5 separate regions of the Homo sapiens genome follow, and regions 1, 3, 4 and 5 are each linked to region 2. The links are contacts of gene promoters, found by promoter capture Hi-C in blood cells and fetal thymus (Javierre and others, 2016). All regions are on one chromosome and are shown on one strand. The core of a region is centred on a gene start or on the middle of the fragment in contact, and the rest is flanking DNA. Distances in the headings are between cores, read along the strand shown. Region 1 overlaps LINC01800 (long intergenic non-protein coding RNA 1800). Region 2 holds the start of AFTPH (aftiphilin). Region 3 overlaps PELI1 (pellino E3 ubiquitin protein ligase 1). Region 4 has its middle 11 kb from the start of LINC02245. Region 5 has its middle 18 kb from the start of LINC01800.

Region 1 (4,366 bases), core at 1,794-4,293, 330 kb before region 2:
CATTCTAGTCTCAAAGAGGAAGGAAGACAAAAGAGGATGTCTTTGTCAGTCTGCATTATGTTAACATTCATAGCCTCCCGTCACCCCCCATGATGGCAGGGCACAGGTCACCTATGGTGATGGGGACATATGAAGTTCCCTGAGTTCTTCACTTCTGTGTCATGTCCTGAACGGAATCCCAAGTTAGCTCCTGGAACCCGCAGCCTTGGCTCACACCAGCAATGTCACAGAGGTAAACTGCTCTCGCTTCCCTGAGCTTGGACTTCAGGGCCTGGCAGCCCCACCAGGCCCTCACCCTGGATGAATCCAACAGTAGGAAGTGACTGGGGAGTCCCTGAGCAGACAGAGGGAGAGGTGCCCACCGGCCCAGGCCTGATGTTCTTATGAATTCTTTTGGTTCCAGACCTTTTTGGCCTTGCCAAGCCCTACAGGAAAGATCAGAGCAGCTGGAAATTTCTAGCAGGAAAGTGCCAGGTTCTGAACAGGTCCTAGTCTGACTTAGAAACAGTTAGGGGCTGGGGCTGCTGGCGGTTGGCATTCTTGTCTGCTTGGTCTCACAGACAGGCAGGAATTGCTTGCTCTCAGAAGGGAGTGCTGCCCCTGACGCTGGGCTGGAGCCGAAGTAAACCCAGGACACGGGGCTGGGGACGATAATTAGAAGCCTCACTTCCACTCCAGCACCAAGACAGCGACACAAAGGGCCTCCTCTGCTGGCCAAGCAGGAGGGGACGGGCTGCCCTGGGGAGGGCTGAGACTGTCACCCAGTGTAGGGCCAGGCAGCTGCAAATGAAACACAGGCCCAGAAGGCTCAGACAGGCATTCAATCTTTCCCAGAGCCAAGAAATCCTGGCTAGAAACTTGACTACAGAGCGAGGAAAGGCACCGGGAAATACTTGAAACCAGGCAAGACCCCTGGTAATGCTGGACTTCTGACAAGCAAGGAGTCGGGCCAAGTGCTTCTTCCCGCCTGGCCCAAACACAAAAGCTGAGCTGGCCAGAGAGGTCCCAGGGGAGATGGGAGAGCAGCTTGGGAGGAACCCAGCAGGAAGAGGAAAGCAGGCAGCAGAGTGATTTTTACCCTGCTCAGACCCCAGAGTTTTCGCACCGCAAGTCTGCAGAGCAGGGGCCCCCACTGTCTTCACACCCACAGCCAAGGCCCCTCCGGCCATTGGAGGCTCACACAAGGGGGTTATGGAAACGCCAGTGTGGCAGCGTGGGGTCACCAACACCTCAGTGGCCAGGCTGCATGGTGCCTGGGCCAGCTTCTCTGTGAGGAAGGGGAGTTTGCAGGGAAACTGTTTGCAGAAAAGCTGTTCCTACTGTGGAGGGACTGACCTTGGCCCCTGGAGCAAACTCAGTCCTTAACCACGTGCTCAGGCTACTTAATTTTAAATGAATTTGCACAGTTGCGTGTTATGAGTGAATTCATAAACCTACAAAGGAATAGTCTTTTATTCATGCTGGTATGTGTGGAAGGGGGTTACTTTTTTAAAGTTCTAAAATTAAAGAAAAAAAGATAAATCATCCTGTGTTGAGGATTGGATTTTGCAACTGAATTCTCTTTATCCTTTGCTAGATCTTGAGAAAAGAAAGAAGAAAAAGAAATATGCTGAAGTATGATGACTTAAAAAAAAACTCTGAATATAAAAGTAGAACATGCTCTATAAAAAGAAATTCAGACAAAAAAAATAAAGAAGGGAACAAAAATCACCTGTCACCACGCCACCAGTGATAGCCCTGATAACATTTTTGTATATTTTTCCCATACTATTTTCTGTGCATACAGACATATGTTTTTATGTGAGCTAAAATTGTTAACATGGTCATGCTCTTAGCATTCTTCCTGCCCCTGTCTACTGAAGAAAATCTTGAATTTGTCTATTTGGTTTCCTTCACTTCTCTCTTCTAGGGAGAGGAACAATTATTACTTGCTGAGAGGAGCTAAGCTGATCTGCATGATGAAGGAATGGAATGGGCTAAGGAAGACGTCCAGACAGGGAAAAGCCTTATGGAAGGGAATTCAACAGAGTTTTCAGAGATTAGCACATTTGAGGCTCTCTAAATAATCAGATGTGGAGGAAGGGGCTTCTGAGATGAGCTAACACGACTATGACCCAGAGTCTTTTAATGTTCTTCCAAATACGTGATCAAATAATGGAATTTATTCTGTATTAATTTTGAGCACTAAACTGTGCATTAAGTCTATAGAGGGATTGGACCCTATGGTCTCCCCTCTGATTTACAAGAATTATGTTTTTAAAAGATGGGGTCATACTATATTTACTTTTACTTATAAAACATTTTAAAATTTTAATTTTAAATTAATTAATTTATTTTTGACACAGAGTCTCGCTCTGTTGCCCAGGCTGGAGTACAGTGGCTCGATCTGAGCTCACTGCAACCTCCGCCTCCTGGGTTCAAGTGATTCTCCTGCCTCAGCCTCCCAAGTAGCTGGGACTACAGGCCCATGCCACCATGCCCAGCTAATTTTTCTATTTTTAGTAGAGACAGGGTTTCACCATGTTGGTCAAGCTGGTCTCGAACTCCTGACCTCATGTGATCCACCCACTTTGGCCTCCCAAAGTGCTGGGATTACAGGCGTGAGCCACCCCCCGGCCTTTCAAAAAAATTTTTAATTCACCACTATACTAATGAGGATATATTTGGTACTTACATGATCTTTTTTTTTAAAAAAAAAAACAATTAAATCTTATGGTCAATAAATGCAGAAATGAATTATCCTTTGAAACAGCTGCATGGTTGGCCTTCATTTGTCTTCATCATAATTTATTTAACCCCCACTTACCGATTTTTGTCATTGTTGTTGTTTGTTTGTTTTAAATAGAGTCTCACTCTGTTTCCTAGGCTAGAGTGGAGTGGTGTAGCCTCAAACCCCTGGACTCAAACAGTCCTCCCACCTCAGCCTCCTAAATAGCTGTGACTACAGATGCACACCACCATATCTTGCTTTTTTTTTTTTTTTTTTTTTTTTTTTTTGGAGATGGAGTCTCGCTGTGTCACCCAGGCTGGAGTGCAATGGCGTGATCTCAGCTTACTGCAACCTCCATCTTTCAGGTTCAAGAAATTCTCCCGCCTCAGCCTCCAGAATAGCTGGGATTACAGGTGCATGCCACCATGTCCAGCTAATTTTTGTATTTTTAGTAGAGAGTGTTTCACCATGTTGGCCAGGCTGGTCTCGAACTCCTGACCTCAGGTGATCCATCTGCCTCGGCCTCGCAAAGTGCTGGGATTACAGGCATGAGCCACCATGGCCGGCCACATCTGGCTTTTTAAAAAATTTTGTGGAGATGGTGTTTCACTATGTTGTCCAGTCTGGCCGCAAACTCCTAGCTCAAACAATCCTCCCATTTCAGCCTTCCAAAGTTTTGGGATTATAGGTGTGAGCCACTGCACCTGGCCAACCCCTCCCCTGTTGATGCCCACTTATGTTGTTTCGAAGTTAATAAATGGTTACCTAAGGTCATCCTTATGTTCGTACATCTTTGCATCTTGCTGAATTTTTCTTTAGAACATATTCCTAAAAGCATCCATGCAGAGTTAAAGGATAATAAGAACATCAGAATTCAGTGCAGTGCCAAGTTGCTCTCTGGAAAGCAAAATTAACACAATGACCTCCAGGGTTGGGTTTCTGCTCCTGAGTGTAGTTGTGCTGCCCAGGGAGGTCCAAGTAGGCAGAGATGCTTAGGGATAGGGTGGAGTCTTTGCACATGGTAGGGAAAGAATGGAGGCTCTTCCTGGATGGAGGGCAAGAAAGGCTAGTGAAGGCCCTATGGAGGATTCATTTTGCTACCCAGCATTCTTTCCTCTGCCTGGCAATCACCTTTCCTTATTCCAAAGAGACCATTCAGTCCATAAGGTTTGGGTGGTGTTGACCTCACACTTTGCCTCTTACCTCCAGCGTGGGCTAACCATGGGGGTGACCACATAGCTTGAGCCAGATCAGTCAGAAGACTCCATACCCTGGAGTCCTTGGTGATTGGACCAAGGATGTGTCTATATCTGCATGTTCACATGACCCATTCCAGGAAGCAGCTTCCTCTCTTCTTTACTCAGCCTCATGTGACACCAGAACTGGCAGTGTCCCTCTCCTCCCACACACAAGGGCTGCTGGGATGGAGACAAAACCCTGACAACATTGCTGAACCTCAGGATACAGCCATGTCTGAAGTCAGCAGGATTCATACTGGACTTTGCAGTTACATGAGAGCCCGTATACTTCTTCCTCCCTGCCAAATTTTCATTCGATTTTATTTCTTATGTATTGAAAAAGAAAAAAGAGCCAGGCATTGGGGTGTATGTCAGCAGTTTCTGTGACTGGGGGTGGGAAGTGGAGTTTTGGGGAGAG
Region 2 (4,087 bases), core at 148-2,647:
ATAATAATGTTGAAACATTTGTTGTCCCTAGAGTTTAGCATATATTTTAATGTCTAAGAGGTTAACTGAAAGCAACAATTAAGTGTAGCATCAAAGATAAACTCTGTGTCTCCCCTCCACCAAATAAAATCCTCGGAATAGGAGGTGGAAGGAAGACTTACACTGTAGGAAAAGTTGAAAACCAAAGTTCTACTTTACTTCTCCTAAAGTGAGAACTTTGAAACGGAACCATTACTTTTGTTTCATCCCCCCGCCCAGTAAAAAATTTACATGTATGAGTCAGTTCTTCCCTCGGCCCCAACAGAAAAGATTCAGTATAACCAAGCTATAACTTGCACAAAGCAACAAGGAAAAAAAAACCTTGCTATCCCCATTACTTTCCTAATAGAGCAAGGACCCTACCACCCCTCACTCCATACTCTGCCTCTGCCCCAAGCAAGACGCAGCACCTGCCAAACCAGGCACTTAAGGAATATGGTCCAACTTTTCAAACGCAAACTGGAGAGGAGACGCAGATAATTTCTTGAAGAGTGCAAGAAGACAGCAGAAAAGGTACTCTGAGGAAGGGATGCGTGAGCTTTGGGGCTGTCCCCTCTGCCTGTTGGAGGATTCCAAATTCGCTTGCTTCAGAGACCCTTGGAAGCAGCACACTCAGGTCGCGGCCAGCCTCGGGCCTCGGTGAAGGAGGCAGTGTTTACACCTGTCACGAGGGAGGGGGAAGGAGAGCGAAGAAGCCCAAGCAAAGCCCCAAACTTCTGAACAGCTCCCTGGAGAACGCAGCCAGCGCGGAGCTTTGGGAGGTGGAAGCAAAGGGGCAGGGAGAGCCGGCGGTGGCCGGGGAGGGAAGGACTCCCACTTACCCGGCCGGTGCCCGGGATGGCGAGGAGGGGGCCGTGCGCTTCGGGCGCCACCAGCGGCGTTCCCGCACTCGCCGCAGAAGAGAGCAGAGCCGGGAGCCCGCAGGCCCGCAGAGCCAGCTCCGTCCTCACAGCTCCCGGCTCCGCGGCGGGCAGATGCTCCCGGCCCGGGTGAGGGTCTGGCTGCTGGGCCGGGCCTGGTCCCCGCACCCTCTTTCCCCGGCGCAGCTAGGGGAGCGGAGCGGCGGCGCTTACCTGGCTCCTTCGGGGCGGCTGCGATGGGCATGGCTCAGGGGCCCGGGGAGGAACTGACTCCCCGGGGAAGGACCGTCTATTCCGACGCGGAACTGGTGAGAGCGGAAGGCCGGCTGCTCACAGCCCTGTCAGCGCAGCAGCACCATGGACGCCCACCCGGAGTTTCACCGCTGCCGCGGGACCCCCATCCCACTACCCTCCGCCCTCTTCCGCCGCCGCCGCCGCCTCCTCCACCTCCTCCGCGGAGACCCCCCGCCCACTCCACACACTCTCCCATCATGCAGCGGGGGAACCGCTGCCGCCGACACGTCACTTCCGGGCGCAGGTGGCTAGGTCGGGACCGGGCGCTGGTGGGTGCTGTGGGGTGGGGGAGGACACTCCAGGGGAATTGGTGTCACAGAACGCTTATCCCTGCGCAGGCGCTGTCGTGCAGAGCGCCGACCGCCATTTTGGGTGCGGGCAAGCTGCCCTTTCCTTTTACTTCCTTGCGAGTCATAGAGCTGTAGGGGGATAGACGTCTTCCCGCACTCAGGCGCCGGTTGAGGCTGCGCTCCTGGCGAAGGACAGGTGCTCCTTTCAGCCGGTTAACGTTCAGCTCAAGACCGGATTAAGTCTCTTGCTCTCCAAATAAAATTGTAAAGGTTTGGAAATATAGAACCACATTTTTACCAAAAACCTACTAGAGAGCATTCGTCAGCTTGCCCTTTTCGCCCCGAAAAACGACTTTTTCATTCACAGCCTGTCTCTTCCTCTTTTTAAATTTATGCCGACAGAGGAAGAAGCTGATATTTAACAAATAACAAGAGGTTGCGATAAATAGAATTTAAGGTGGGAAAGCAGCCGCCAAACTGACAAATCGTCTTCGAGACCGACAAGAAAATAGTAGTCCGGAATTTGGCTAATGGATGGAGAAGGTGGTCGTTTTTCATAGACCCTTACGGAGAATATCTAGTGAAGCTAAAGAGATCACCATAAACTTATGCATTCAAACGCATTTCTGGAACAGAGGTCGTAACCGATTTTGTTTCCATCATCAGTCCTGAACAGTTGATTATTTATATAATCAACTGTTATTTATATAAAGGTAATAAAAATATTACCTTTCCTCCTCCTTTACAATGAATATCTGTTAGAACACCTGCCAGTGTAACAATCAGACTACAAGGCTACAGGATTATGATTACTGTCTCGGATGATGAGCCCGGGGTCCTACAAATCATGACCCCCGCCGGCCCCTCATTCTGCCCATATTTGCCAAACGTCTGCATCAGTAATTTGAATAATTTAAAATAGTTCCAAAACAGCAAAGCTCAGCAGTTACGCAAAGAAACAAGAATGGAAAACATCCCCTCAGGCACAGAGAAGTGTCCACCCCTTTGGGTGGAGGAATTATACAAATCAGGAGAAAGATAAGGACAATAGCAGTTCATCACGATTTATCCCGCCTCTGCAATGTTCTAGACAAATTAACTCGGAGCGCTCCAATGGACCCGCATTTGTCTCTTTACTATTCAATCGCTGTAAGATATACGGAGACTGCATCACTTTAAATGGGAGTATCAATTGCTTTGTGGTTATGCTGGATTTTGTGTTATTGCTCAGTCACTAAAGTAAGAAAAATCTATATGGCTTGTCAAATTTATGCCTATTGTATTTCGCCCCCTGCTGGTTTAGCTCGTGTGCAAGCTTGAATTTGTGTGTGTGTAGAAACTAGAAATTGATTTTAAACGAACACATGCTTGTTTTCATTTTACAGCTCTACTAAACAGAAATATCAAAATAAGAACATATGACTAGACCTTAAAGCAGACCCTACACTAAGAACATGTTTAAACTAAATGAATTTAAACTGCACTCCAGCCTGCGCGACAGAGTGAAACCCTGTCTAAAAAAAAATTAAATTAAATTGCACACCCCCCATCAGCTTACAATTTTGTAATAGGGAAATTGAGTACCTATTTGGCCAACTAACTTGTAATTGGTAATCTTACATGTAATTCCGAAGACAGTGCCCTAATGCTCATGACATTTTATTACAAAGGGAAAGTATTTGAGTGTTTTTAAGGTGATAAATCTGTGGGAAATATAAAGTCCATTTCATTTGGAGTCAATGATAGTATTGTTTTTATTTACCTTTTAAAAATTATGGCCATAACTGCATTACCTAAGATTTGGCATCAAGAAAAGAAGAAGAAAAAAATTACCAGTTAACATTTGTTGTATTTACTTCTAGTTTTTTTTTCCTGTGCGTACTTTTTACAAACTTGTAATCATAATTTAAGTAGATTTTGTGTCCCTTTTGTGTTGTAAGCATTTCCACCCATCGTTTAATGTAAAACCTTAATTTTAATTGGCTGCTTAGTAGTCAATGGAATGACCACTATATGGATAGTTTTCAGTATTATAAAATAATACTTAGATGAACATTTTGTGTGTGTGGCTTTGTTCAATTTTAGAATTTTTTTTCTCAGTATAAAAGTTACTAAGCGAAAAGGCAATGAATGTTTTATTGGTAATTTATCATCTCATATTATTTTCCAAGAGACTGCTAATTTAGAATGCCACCAGCAATATATGAGTGCACTAATTTTACCACCTCCTTACCAACCAGCAGTGAATGATAATTAAGAGGGGAAAAAAAGATGGAAAGAATAAAAAGTGAAAACAGTTTAATTCATTTTATATTGTGTAAGAAATTAACAGACAAGCAAGAACAAAACCTCAGCAATGTGTTGGTGTTCTGGAAAAGCAATATGCGTAGAACCTGGGTCTATGACCAGTTCTGTTGTCACTATGATTTTGTATAAGTTACTCAACCTCTCTTGACCTCAGTCTCCTTATATAACAAATGAGAGAATACAGTCAGATCACAGGTTCTCAACCCTCTTAGGACAAATAATGTTTTGGCACATGTATCTCTTTAAGAATACGGTAAAAGCTTTGGCTCTTTCTATAGAAAAATGCTTGTATCCACA
Region 3 (4,261 bases), core at 559-3,058, 380 kb after region 2:
CATGTAGTGAATGTACAGGTTTTAAAGAGGAAACTATCACCTAGCTTTTTATTAGCATGGTAGAAGTGCTGTAATGTAATAGTAGTAGTATTTATTTGCTTCTAAAAAGTAAGCTGGAAATTTGCCTCAGTGGAATTTGTAGGGGGAGGGAATCCATTCTTTCCTTAAGATTGGCATTTAAATGTTCTTACAGTTGGTTATGTTGAACTTTTTCTGTGGTATTTTCAAGCCAGATTTACCAGGAACATTTGTACTTCAAGGAAGCTACTAACACTGTCTTGGCTCAGTCACTGGAATCCACAGGCAGAAGTTAGTGTTGACTGGCAAAGTCTGGCTTTGCAGGTTTCATAATTTCTTTGAGACCCCTTAAAGGAAATGACTGAAAAGTACGGGGTAGGAAGTTAGTCTAGTACTGCCAAATGCCACTGAGGCAAGTTTCAAAGGGGAAGCCAAAGGATGTTTCCATTTGATTTAAGTTCAGCCTCTTCTGGGTTGTCAGAATGTCACTTTTGTATTTTAAGAGTTCTATCATTTCAGAATATGATGTATTATGGTTTTCTAGTAGGTCAGGTGGTAAGGACTGTAGATAGTCATTATGCTTCGTGGACAACTAATGTTTTTAGGCAGAAGCTTCTATAGCTGATAAAGATTTTAAGCCAAAGACTTAGAATTGAAAACTAATATATACATACACATTTTACCATAATACATCAATGTAGACCTATCCTAGTATTTATTAGGTTAGAAAGGCTTTTTGGATTATTTTATTATACAGATATATTTAACTGTAAATATTAAAATTTCATAATGACTAATATATGATGGCACTGAGGTGGCTTTAGGAGCTCCTTTGGGGTGGGGGCGGGAAACATGTTATTCCAAAAGTTACATTTATGTCTTTGAGGACAGTAAAGCAGATTTAAAAGCCAGTGAGAAAAGGAAGAAAATCAGCAAAGTGAAGAAAACCTGATGAAGATGTTTTTAAATAATACAATGTAAAGATTGTTGGCAGCATTTATATATAAGGGACAAAATTCTAGTTGAAGTCTATAAACAGTGAATTCCACTTAGCACTTTCTGTTTATAGATTTCTAGCCATCTTTTCCAGATTCCCTCTGAATATATTACACAGGCAAAGTAAATAGAAGTCATTCTTTCAAGGGATTTGGGTTCTTGGAGATTTTTTTACACTTGTGGTAGTGGGGGAGGGGAAGTGCTTATTATATTTTCTTAGTTTTAAGTGTGACCTGTGCCATAGAATATTTCCCTAGACTAATGTGTGGGAACCTCAAGACAAGAATTATTGGTCATTGAAAGATCTGGATATGATTTCAAGTTCTGCCCCTAGGTTTTTTTTTGTTTGTTTGTTTTTTTTTTTTGCATGTTGTCTTGAGTAGATCACTTCTATTTTTCCTTCAAAGGCTGAAAATAACTGCCTAACATACTATGTTTAGTAGGTCCTAAATACTTTTTGTTGTTTAATGAATTTACAGGTAATAAAGAGAAAGCACAGTGTTTCTTGAATGGATGTCAGGGAATTTCTAATTTTTTTCTTTTTTGATAGAAAAAAGTAATCAAAACATAAACATCTGATTGGAGTCTTTCAGTTAGCTTACCTACCTTCAGAAATAAGCCTAGAGAAAGAGAGCTTCATCTGGTAGTTTAACAGAAATGAATTGTAAATGACTCTTAAGAAGAATTGACAATTTTTCGGAATGTTGTACTAGATGTTTTAGATTCTTTTTGCCACATAAACTCCACTTCAGAGAAATGGGGTTCTACATAGTACTCTTGTATCGCCCCTGTAATACCTTTACACCTCAAAATACCAGTTGCAGAAAAATAGAATGTGTTGCTGATGCCTATAAATGGGAAAATCCTGACATCTGTCTTCATCCTCCAGTTAATCTTCATGTAGTTTTTAAAAAAATTAATTCAACACACATGTAATTTACTTCCTTTTCAGAAAATTTGTTGCTAATTTTTATTTTATAATGAGCCTCTTGGGATGTTGCTAATTCTAAAAATATGTAATACCCGCGGTTTCCCACCATCTTCTGCAGTTTCTTTTTCTATTATTTTTTTGGCTACAGTTTTCTTTTTCCCCTAAGCTGTCTAAAATAAGCTAAGAAATGTTTAAATGTAGTTGACAAGAAACACAGTCAGTAATTTATCATGCTAAAATTTCAACATACAAGGTGCAATGAAATCTGTTTTAGGGATAGTACACTTTTGAAGGGGGCTAAAGCAGGGACAGCAAATAAATTTCGTTTGGGGTACCAAATCTGATTGTTTAGTGGTGGCTGCCTAGAGTGCTGTGTTTAGAAAACTGGGAGTCCTTGTTCAAACTTAGCAGGAAAGAGTACTGTGATTAGCAATTTCTGCTGTTGGTGAGCGGTGGACTTTTGGCATGGATGCCAAATACATTCAGTGTTTATTGATGCCGTTTACATGTCACAGGTCTAGATGCTGATACCTCATAGACTAAAATCTCTGCTTTCATGGTGTTTACATTCTAGTAATAAGACACAAACCATAAAATAAATAAAATACATTGCGTTTTAAGAAAAATGGCTGGGCGCAGTTGCTGACACCTGTAATCCTAGCACCTTGAGAGGCTGAGGTGGGAAGATCCCTCTTGTCCAGGAGTTCAAGACCAGCCTGGGCAACGTGGTGAGACCTTGTCTCTACAAAGAAGTTTCTTAAAAAATTAACTGGACGTGGTCCCAACTACTCGGGAAGCTGAGGTGGGAAGATCACTTAAGCCTGGGAGATTGAGGCTGCAGTGAACCATGATTGCACCACTGCACTCCAGCCTGGGCAACAGAGCGAGACCCTGCCTCAAAACAATAGAAGTTAAAAAATAAATAAAAGAAAAATGACCTGATTTATTCAAAAAATTAATAGCAAGAAATAGGGAGGGAGAACTATAAGATTAAAAGAGACTTAAGAGGCTTTTCCACCAAATGCAATGTATGAAGCTTAGTTCTATCCTGCTTTGAGCAAACTAACTGTAAAAAGACATTTATTCAAAATTGGGGAAATTTAGACTCTGGATATTTAATGAAAAGGATTTGTCCATTTTTTCAGGTGTGAGAATGTACTTTTTAAGTGTTCTTTTAGAGATGTATAATGAAGTGTTTACAACTTAAAATGTGATGTGTGGGTTTTTACTTCAAAATATTGAAAGGGAGAGGAACATAGATGAAACAAGATTGGCCATATATTGAAAATTGCTGAAGGTAGATGCTATATGGATACATGAGGTTTCTTACTTCCTCTTTATTTTTGTGTATGTTTGAAATTTCCCCTAATAAACAGTTTTACACACAAACAGGAAAATAAAGCAGGGAAGGGGAAGGGAGAATAAATGGGATATGTGTATGAGGTTCGGAGGAGGATGCAGTTTTTTGCTTTTTGTTTCTTGTTTTTTGTTTTTGAGATGGAGTTCTGCTCTCATCACCCAGGCTGGAGTGCAGTGGGGCGATCTCAGGTCACTGCAAATTCTGTTTCCTGGGTTCAAGTGGTTCTCCTACCTCAGCCTCCTGAGTAGCTGGGATTACAGGCACACGCCACCACGCCCAGTAGAGTTTTGTATTTTTAGTAGAGACAGGGTTTCACCATGTTGGCCGGACCGGTCTGAAACTCCTGACCTCAGGTGATCACCTACCTCCGCCTCCCAAAGTGCTGGGATTACAGGTGGGAGCCACCACACCTGGCCAAGATGCAGTTTTAAAGGGTAGTGAGAAAAGACTTCATTGAGAAGATGATAAATAGTTAAAGTGAGTAATGACCTGAAGGAGGTAGCACAGCAAGCCTTGCAGGTCTCCTTGGAGCAAGACATTATACACAGAGGGAATAGTAAGTGCAGTGGCCCTGAGATGGGAGCGTGCCTACAACTGCAAGAAACTACAAGAAGACAAGGGTGTGAGCCAGGCATAGTGGCTTGCACCTGTAGTGCCAGCTACTCAAGAAGCTGAGGTGGGAGGATCATTTGAGCCCAGGAGTTCCAGACCAGTCTGAGCAGCATAACCAGATCCTGTCTAAAAAAAACAAAACAAAACAAAAAAAACTAGCGTAACTAGATCAGGGTGAGCGTGAGTACATAAAATCAGCATCAGCATGGGAAAGGAAGGTTAGAGAAGACTAAATTGTGTAGGGCTGGTTATCCATCTTTAAAGGAAAAATATTTTATACACTTATCTAAAATAAGTCTTATACTTTAGAGTAGTCACCATGGAAGCTATACACTTAACAATAC
Region 4 (4,372 bases), core at 1,045-3,544, 420 kb before region 2:
AGAAAATAAACATGGGAAAGAGGCAAAGTTAATGTCCCCTGGAGAAATGGATGGATGATTGGATGGATAGACAGATGGACAGGTGGGTAACCTCATGAGCCAACAGCTGCCAGGTTTTCAGAGCAGGTAGGAATCTACCTTCATCATGGAGGCTGCGACTGGGACCGCTCACTGCCCACAGCTCACCTCTGGATGTGATACGATGCATTCATGAAGTTGGGCTCTTATGCCTTAGCCTGTAAGGCTGAAAGTGCCTCCTGTGCGAATGAGTAGCTAGAACACAAAGAGCACCTACGGCCCGTTCCACCCCTGTGCCCCATGGGGAATATTCCGGGTGTCTTTCCCCAGCCCCAAGTTGAGACCTGCAGCTATGACGGTAGGGACCCAAGGGGGACAGTAGCTCCCCGCTGCTCTTGAGGGCCAGGAACTAATAATAAACCATGTGGCCATTTCATAGGAACCACTTCAAATTTTTTTCTCAAAAACCGAAAAAGTTCCTGAGAAATCGTGGACAGCAGAGGGGTTCTTCATTGTACCTTTTTTCTTGGGGCATGTAACCTGGACCCGGGGAGGTGAGGGTCTGGCCAGGGTCACAGCTAAGGACATGTGTCCTGGCTCAGAGAGCAGAGCAGTGCTCGCCCACTAGCCAGCTCAGGTGGGCTCTAGAATTTAGTCTGGTGGAGAAGTGCCCAGCCCACACAGGTGACAGCTCTTACTACACTCCAGGTGCTGTCGGCTTATCAGATGTTATTTAATTCTCGCAGCAGCCTATGGGGTAGTTGAGTAGTGTGGCTGGAATGTCAGGGGTGTGTAGGGACGCCTTAGGAATGAACCTGCAGAGGTCAGTTAGGACTAGGCTGGGGAGGAACAGAATGCCATGCCAAGGATCCCTCCTCTGGGTGAGGGGGAGTGATCAGGGGCTTTTGGTAGGGAAGTAATGTGACCTGGCTTATTTTTTTGAGAATGGATTGGAGGGGCAAGAGCAGAGCAGAGCAGAGCAGAGGCTGAGAGAGGAGGTGATGGGGCATGAGGGATGGCGGCTGGGACTAATGCTGGGGCCTTGGGCGAGGACAGGAAGACAGCTTTCTGGTCTGGAGAGGGAAGCAGCATGGGGATCACTAGAGAGGAGAGCCAGAGAGGAGGCAGAGGCCCCAAAGGAGGAAGAAACCATGAACAAGAGTCTTGCTTAGGCTCTGTCCCCAACCAGCTTTGGAACCTTGGGCAAGTCACGTCATCCCTCCGGGACTCAGTTTTCACTGCTGTAAAATGATGGGGCTGAATGCATCCTCTCCCATGGTAAGAACGATGGGCCTTTTGCACATTTCTTTTGCTCCAGGGGTGGGGAAAGCCTGAACCATGGCATAATGCCTGGCACTGCCAGGAGCACCAGAGGAACTGCCAAAGTGGCAGGGAGTGGCCGGCACATGGGGCCAGTTGGCATTGAAGCAAGCAGCATGGCAACGCTAAGGCAAAGAGCAGGCCAAGGCTGCCGGGGCTTGCCAGTGTGGGCAGGATGCTGGAGTAACTGTGGCAGGGCTCCAGCAGACACGAGCAAGGCCAGTCTGGGAACCGCATCCCCCCTTTACATAATCATCCTTACGGCAACATGTTTTCTCATTTCAGTTAAGCAGTGCCAGGCCTCTGATCAAATGGCTTTTGTAATCCTTGTTGTCAAGTTTAAGCTTGAGCAAACAGTAAGGCAGCCTGAGAGTCACCTCAGCCTTCTGACTCAGCGTCCCTGTGTGCAGCGGATGGGATGGGATCTTCTAAATGTCCCTTCTGACACTAAAATGCTAGGAGCCTTCTGTTAGAATTCCACCCTCTAAATCATACCATGCTGGGGGCACCTCACGCCTCTGAGTGTGATCAAAGCTCACTGCAGCCTCAAACTCCTGGGCCCAAGTGATCCTCCTCTCTCAGCCTCCTGAGCGGCTGGGACCACAGGCGTGTACCACCACGCCCAGCTAATTAATTTTTCTTTTCTTTTTTTTTTTTTTTTTGTAAAGACAGAGTCTCACTATCTTGCCCAGGCTGGTCTTGAATTCCTGGCCTCTAGCAAGCCTCCCACCTCAGACTCCCAAAGTGCTGGGATTATAGGTGTGAGCCACCACACCCAGCCTTTATACATCTTGAAATACACTTTTCAGCTGTAGAGCCATGATACGTGATTTAAATTCTCTGTGCCTGTTTCCTTGGGCCTGGCAGAGAAAGTGTGAATAGCCTATTGTGGCCGTATACCTGGGGATGATAATGCTACCTACTTTGCTGTTAGGAATACTAAGTGAGAAAGTATGAGTGAAACCTTCAGCACAGAGCCAGGCACACCGTAAGTGCTCCATGAACGGACAGCTATTATTGTAATTACGCATTCAGCCATCAGAACTTACTGCATGTCGAGAGCTGTGCAAGGCTCAGGGGATAGGGTACTAACCAGTTAGGCTGACGAGCAAGTGTCCTGTCCTCACCGGGTGGCTGTCTGAAGGAGAGGCAGACCAGTCAACCAGTTTCCCTTAACTAGTACATATGCCCTCTGCTAGGGAAGCAAGAGTGGCTGCAGGAGCCCACAGGAGGGGCACCCACCCCAGAGCCATGGGCGGCAGGCCACTGCAGCTGCCCTCTGCTGTCTGGATGCCTTCCCCTGGCCTGGAAAGAGCTTCCCCCAGATGGCTCCATGACCCACTCATTCATGTTATTCAGGACTCTGCTCAGGCATCACCTCCACAAGGAGCCTTCTCCAATCTTTCTGTCTAAAACAATCCCTACCCACCCTGCCGCCTTTATCATTCCATTCCATGCCCTCATGCTGCTTTATTCTCTTTACAGTACTGATCTTTTCTACCAGCGGATTGTGGATCTGTTTTGAAAAATATGTTTATTGACCATTTACCCACCACAAAGTAAGCTTGGTGAACGCAGGGGCTTTACCTATTTTGTATTCCTTATTGCATCCCCAGTGCACTCCCAGAACAATGCCTGGGCCACGGTGAGCCATCAATGCCTGTCTTGGGTGAACAAAGTGACCACTAAGCTAGATCCTGTAGGATGCATAGAGATTGACCAGGGAAAGGGTCAGGGAGAGAAGAGAGAATCTTCCAGGCAGAGGGAGCAGCATGTACAAAACCAGGGGAGGAGAGCAGAACATGATGGGAGGTAGTTCTGTATGACAGGCATGTTCATTAACAGAGCAGGAGGAGCAGGCAGCGAAAGGAAGAGCTTTCTGCTGGAGCTTCTGAATCATGATGTGGGTCTGACCCCATGGAAGGAGCCAGGGCAGGAAGGATGATTGGAGAGGAAAGTCTCAGACTGCAGCATGGTTCTAAGAAGGTTTTGGCCAGGCAGATGGGGAGTCCCTGAGCCAAAGCTGGCCCTCAGAGGAATTCCCCATCAGGCAGAAGCTAGTGCCGTGTTATGCTCAGCCTTTGGCTGGAATTAGCTCAGGGGACGTGTGGCTTTGGAGGGATGCAGTGAGGGATCCTGAAGGGCGGGAACTGTGGCTGTCACTTGACTGCTCCCTGCAGCCGGAGACCTCGATGGTGCAATTCCATGGCTGCCCAACAAGCAGAGAGGGCAAGGAAGGAAGTGGTGAGAATTGAGTCTGGAGAGCTAAACATGGACCAGATCACCAAGGGTACTTCAGGCCCTGTTAAAGAGTTGGATTTTATCATGAAGGCAATGAGATGCCAGGATATGGTTTTGTTCAGGGGAAACAGAATGATTGGATTTGCATGTCAGAAGGATCACTTTGGCTATTATGTAGAACATGGAAAAGAAAACCTTTTGAAAAGTCTAGACTAGTAATCCAGGCTCCCTTTATTATTATTGTTATTATTATTATTATTTGTTTTCATTCTCACTGTGAAAGCAGTTTGAGAAATAGACACAGATGGCCTCCTCGTGGAAGTCAAACCTCACCTTTATTCCTGAATAAGCAGTTAGCAAATGTGCCTTTGTTGTGAGGGCCAAATGGGTTTCCAGTCACTCCCTGCCCAATGGTTCCCTCCAGTCTAGGCCTTGGGCAGCCACCCAGGCATCCATCTGGGTCTTCTCTGGAGAATCACTGCCTTCCTCTGGCCAGGATGAGGAGGGGAAGAAGAGGCTGAGTCCCCGGCACTTATCATGGTCTTTCCATTGCTGAGCTCCACCTAATGGAGGAACATGGACACCTCTCACCCCAGGTGAGTTGGCCGTGTTAGCTCTAGAAGCACAGGGATGGGAAATCTGCGTTCTCCACCTTTGCAGGTGAGAGATAATGGTGGCCCAGTCAGGTTGGTGGCATTGGAGGGAGGAGGACAGAAAGAAGAATTGACAAGACTTAGTAACTGACTGGATGGTGTGGGTGATGGTTCTGTGTGCTCAAAGAAAAGTCAAGAAT
Region 5 (4,366 bases), core at 1,608-4,107, 360 kb before region 2:
CCAGCTACTCAGGAGGCTGAGGCAGGAGAATTACTTGAACCCAGGAGGCGGAGGTTGCAGTGAGCCGAGATCGCGCCACTGCACTCCAGCCTGGTGACAGAGTGAGACTTCATCTAAAAACAAAACAAAACAAAAACATAACCGGTCACCTGTCAAATGGAAAGCATTGATGTGGACTGGCCCTGGTGGTGAGGGCAATACAAAGGCTGAGCTGTAAAAATTCACATTCTATGTGGTCTACCAGGACCTCATGAAAGCAGGCTTTGTTTCCATTTCTTTACCTCCTGTCACTTGCCGTATTTTGATAATGCTCTAAATTACAGGACCTAGAACTGGTCTTTAATTACAGAGTACTTTAACAGGGCTTGCTGGCGAATACCATAGAATTACAGGAGCCACTAATGAAATACAGCATCATTTTATCTGTTCTCTGGTGGCAGCTTTTAAAATGCAATTAGAACCGTGTAAGATATTTATTTAGGATTTTATCTCATTTATTTATTCCATCTCCAAATGAATGTTGTACTTCCAGCTGCCTTTTTACTCCTTCACGCGAGCATTTTCTTATTTTCAATCCACTCTTTTCTCCCCTGTTAGACTTCAGGGAGCCAGGATGTCAGCAGCCTGGAGAGCTGAAGAAGGGAAGCAAACATCTTCAAGACGTCTCCCGGCCTGCCCACTGCTCTGCCCAGGCTTGGAGGGAGGGAGAAAGGGACACAAAAGTTCATGTCACACTCCAGGCTAAAATTCTCCCAGGTGCCCTACCATTACCTACAGGCAAACAGCCTAATTCCTGTTTTCCCAAGACAGGAGAAGCCCTGCACAACCTGGCCTGGCCTCTCCCATCCCTGTTCCAGGCATGCTTTCTTGTGTGGATCACTCACTCCCACCCTCAGAGGGGCCAGGCATTTCCACACCTCTCCACTTTTGTCTCAAATAAAAATATTCTGGAATTAGATAGCGATAATGGTTGTACAACATTGTGAATATACTAAAAACCACTGAGTTATACACTTTAATTAATTAATTAATTTAAGACAGTGTCTTACTCTGTTGCCGAGACTGGAGTGCAGTAGCATCATCACGGCTCACTGCAGCCTCAACCTCCCAAGCTCAAGTGATCCTCCTGCCTCAGCCTCCCAAAGCCACAGGCATGCACTGCCATGCCTGACTAATTTTTTTTATTCTTAATTTTGAAGAGATGGGGGTCTCGCCATGTTGCCCAAGCTTGTCTGGAGCTCCTGGGCTCAAGCCATCCTCCTACCTCAGCCTCCCAAAGTGCTGGGATTATGGGCATGAACTACTGTGCCTGGCCCAGTTATACACTTTAAAGTGCTAATTTTATGTTATGATAATTATATTTATAGCATTTAAAGCCCACTCAAGTGTCATATCCTCTATAAAAGCCATTCCTTAGCCTCTTCTGTCACCCAACCCATCTTCCCACCCCAAAACAGATCCCATTTCTTCTAGGATCCCTTTGTCCATACTCATCAATACCCGCCTGGTCCACTGCATGGTAGCCAGCAGTATGTGTATCTCCCCTTCAAGGGTGAAGCCCTGGAGGGCGAGAGATATGAGTTCATCTTTGTGTGCCCCAGCGCCACAGCCTGCATGCTGCATATAAGAAATGCTCAACAAATCTTTGAAACCATTTCAACTCTTTCCTATGCAATAGAGCTGTCAATGTATCTGTGTCTCTTAAACCTCTCCTTCTGCCTGAAGACACTTTGGATTTATCTGGCTTGTGACCAGGCGGCTTCTGAACAAATAGGGACTTTGATCAGTTTCACAAGGTGCCCACAAGTGCCAAGCACTGTGCTGGGAGCAGTGGCCATAACAGAACTAAATGGCATGGTCCCTGCCTTCAAGGAATTGATAATCCAGTAGTGGGAGATGAGGCAAGAGTCCATACCCCTTTATCCACAGTTTCACTTTCCGTGGTTGCAGTTACCCATGGTCAACTGAGGTTCAAAAGCATTACATACAATAAGATATTTTGAGAGAGAGAGAGAAAGGGAGAGGAAGTAACCACATTCACATGACGTTTTTACAGTATAAGTGTGAAATGCCTTTTGATGAGAGTGATGAGGAAGATAGGTGGTAGACACAGCCCCTCCCCTCACTTCTGTAGCCTTAGTGCTGCATTGACCCTTGGAGTCACCTACTCGGAAGGATGTTCTAGAATAGTGTGCTAGGAAGCTCTTCTTTGTGTCCAGTGGAAGGATGTTGTTGAGGACGCTGGTTAGCACTCTGTGTTGACAAGACGAGCCATGCTGAAGACTTACATCTCTGTATGTACAGAAGAGAGCTCATCTGGCTCCAGGCAACGTCACCATACCAGGTTTGCTGCCCGATGTGTGGAAAGTGATGACACCAAGACACCAAGGTGCAGCACAGAAAGAGGGTTACTCATAAAGCAACCAAATGAGGAGATGAGAGTGAACTTCAACTCTGCCTCCCTGAGGAGTTGGGGCTAGAGATTTTAAGGGGTCTGCATGAGTGTGGGGCTGAGATGTGGGGATCATTCCTTGGCCAAAGAGTGCAGGGTGAAGCCATGGGATGGGGGGAATGAAACTACATTCTCATGCCAATTTGGTTCCTCTGTGGGGGCCTTCAGATTGGTTGGCGTCAGCCATTCCGCTGGAATTCAGGATCTGAAAAACATCTTAAGCAATCCTTAAACGAAAGCCTTATGATGCTAACCTCAGAGATCCTATCCATAAGAACAATGGGAATGCAAATGGTCATGTGTGGCTTTTATTTAGCAAGCAGCTACAAGGAAGTGTGCCAAGTGCAGCCTGATTAATGCTTAATTATATTTCTGTCAGAACCTGGCATGTAATTTTTGTTAACCCTGTGATGGTTTCAGCAAGAGACCAGGCCACACTTTCCAGCGGTGGTGTTTTCCAAGGAGGTGAAGCCCATGCAGGTGGCTCCCTCTTCTCTCTCTTCTTTCCAAGTGACCCTGGCATAGGCAGACGCTTCCCTCTGAGCCAGCCCATCCCTGTCTCCCTTTCTGTATGGACATCCTTTCTTCCTCCCTCCTGGCAGCAGGCTGAAGCAGCAGCATCGGCACACAGGAAACACACAGCCTCTCACCCTGGCCCTGCTGGGGATCCATTAGGCCAGGCTGCCCAGATCACGGTGGCGAGATTGGAGACTCAAGTTGGGGTGGCGGCTGTGAAATCGAGCACGCCTCCCAGGCTGCTTCGTCAGAAGCCATTTAGGCCTAACTGACTTAGAAAAGGGAGGCTGTTCTGGGAATCAAAATCTAGCTTCCCAGAGTTTTCTCTGCACTGGAGTTGGGGGCCCAAGCCCCAGATAATAGTGTTACAGACATTACATGCCATTTGCTCATGGGAGCCTTCTCAGCACATATATTCCTTGGGAACCTCACGGGACCAAACTGCTTGGATTCAACTCCCATTTCCTAATCAGTTGTGTGGCCTTGGGCAAATTACTTAACCTCTCGGTGCCTCAGTTTTCTCATCAGTAAAATGGGCGTAAGGTCATTGTCTTAATAAATTTACACACGTACAGCACTTTGGGCCACAGTTGGTTCATGGCTAGCACTAAACTAATGTTAGCTGTCGCCACTCCCACCTAAGGCCAGTCCCTCCAGGAACCTGACACTTTTGGTGTTCCATCTCTTCTTCTCAACCATATTCCTGTCATGGTGGGTAGCACCCCTGTTCATCCAGTTGAGCCAGCCACAAGCCTAGAGGTCACCCCACTCCCCATCCCCACAAACCGTCATCAAGTCTCATCAACCTTATTAACTTCCTTAAAAACTTCCAGATCTGTTCCCCTCTGTCCTACTCTACAACTTCTCCCCAGAGCTAGCCCAGTAGCCCCCAAGTACAACCATCCCAGCCACTACCCATTTCCACCCTGCGGCCAGAGTCCTGCTTTGAAATGCAGACCTGATCTTGTCACCCCTCCCTGGACTCGCCCTGCTGAAATCTCTTAATGACTTTCCACTCCTCTTGGGGTGAAAATCAAAACCCTAACACCATGCAGACTGAGTCTGTTAGAATATTTTTGACCCTGAGGATCAGAAACCCTAGCAAACCAGATTTAAATTACAGGCAGTTTATTAGCTTCCTCACAGGTAGACTGGATAGGGTGGGCTTCAGGCATTGTATGATTAAGGCTCTAGGAACACGTCCTGCTATTCTCTCAGCCCCGCCTTCGTCTCCAGGTGCCAGCTTTGTTCACGGTTCAGCTAGCATTCTTTTGATCAATATCAAGTGAAACACTTCCAGAGAAAAAAGGGAACATCCTGCCCAGCCATGAAATAAAACTCCTTCCTGTCAGCCTGAGTGAGCCAGCTGAGGCCATGTGCCCATTCCCAACCAAAAAA

The links. The method cuts DNA at HindIII sites, captures the fragments that hold promoters and counts their contacts. A CHiCAGO score of 5 or more calls a contact.
Region 1: a fragment that was not itself captured here is called in contact with the fragment with the promoter of AFTPH in region 2 in 13 of 17 cell types (neutrophils, naive CD8 T cells, activated CD4 T cells and 10 more); the score reaches 12.6 in neutrophils.
Region 3: a fragment that was not itself captured here is called in contact with the fragment with the promoter of AFTPH in region 2 in 3 of 17 cell types (non-activated CD4 T cells, neutrophils and total CD8 T cells); the score reaches 5.6 in non-activated CD4 T cells.
Region 4: a fragment that was not itself captured here is called in contact with the fragment with the promoter of AFTPH in region 2 in 1 of 17 cell types (monocytes); the score reaches 5.6 in monocytes.
Region 5: a contact is called between a fragment that was not itself captured here and the fragment with the promoter of AFTPH in region 2, in 15 of 17 cell types (M2 macrophages, neutrophils, total CD8 T cells and 12 more). The highest score is 13.5, in M2 macrophages.

Annotation. Positions count from the first base shown.
Region 1 is chr2:64,854,628-64,858,993 of GRCh38, reverse strand. The region is part of intron 1 of LINC01800 (long intergenic non-protein coding RNA 1800); the gene reads left to right. Among named protein-coding and RNA genes, the nearest start is that of LINC01800, 6.8 kb to the left of the region's middle. The HindIII fragment of the contact is 8,781 bases long and covers 1-4,366 here.
Region 2 is chr2:64,521,638-64,525,724 of GRCh38, reverse strand. It overlaps AFTPH (aftiphilin), which reads right to left and starts at 1,397. Exons shown (of 10, transcript NM_203437.4): 1 at 1,113-1,397. It overlaps AFTPH-DT (AFTPH divergent transcript), which reads left to right and starts at 1,570. Exons shown (of 1, transcript NR_136167.1): 1 at 1,570-3,536. It overlaps MIR4434 (microRNA 4434), which reads right to left and starts at 212; the gene lies at 160-212. RefSeq lists enhancers at 518-1,018, 1,019-1,519, 1,621-1,840 and silencers at 891-1,140, 1,151-1,230, 1,261-1,420. The HindIII fragment of the contact is 6,179 bases long and covers 1-2,800 here.
Region 3 is chr2:64,137,906-64,142,166 of GRCh38, reverse strand. The region is part of intron 1 of PELI1 (pellino E3 ubiquitin protein ligase 1); the gene reads left to right. Among named protein-coding and RNA genes, the nearest start is that of PELI1, 4.4 kb to the left of the region's middle. The HindIII fragment of the contact is 2,351 bases long and covers 633-2,983 here.
Region 4 is chr2:64,941,105-64,945,476 of GRCh38, reverse strand. No RefSeq gene overlaps it. Among named protein-coding and RNA genes, the nearest start is that of LINC02245, 11 kb to the right of the region's middle. The HindIII fragment of the contact is 1,220 bases long and covers 1,685-2,904 here.
Region 5 is chr2:64,879,072-64,883,437 of GRCh38, reverse strand. No RefSeq gene overlaps it. Among named protein-coding and RNA genes, the nearest start is that of LINC01800, 18 kb to the right of the region's middle. The HindIII fragment of the contact is 3,256 bases long and covers 1,230-4,366 here.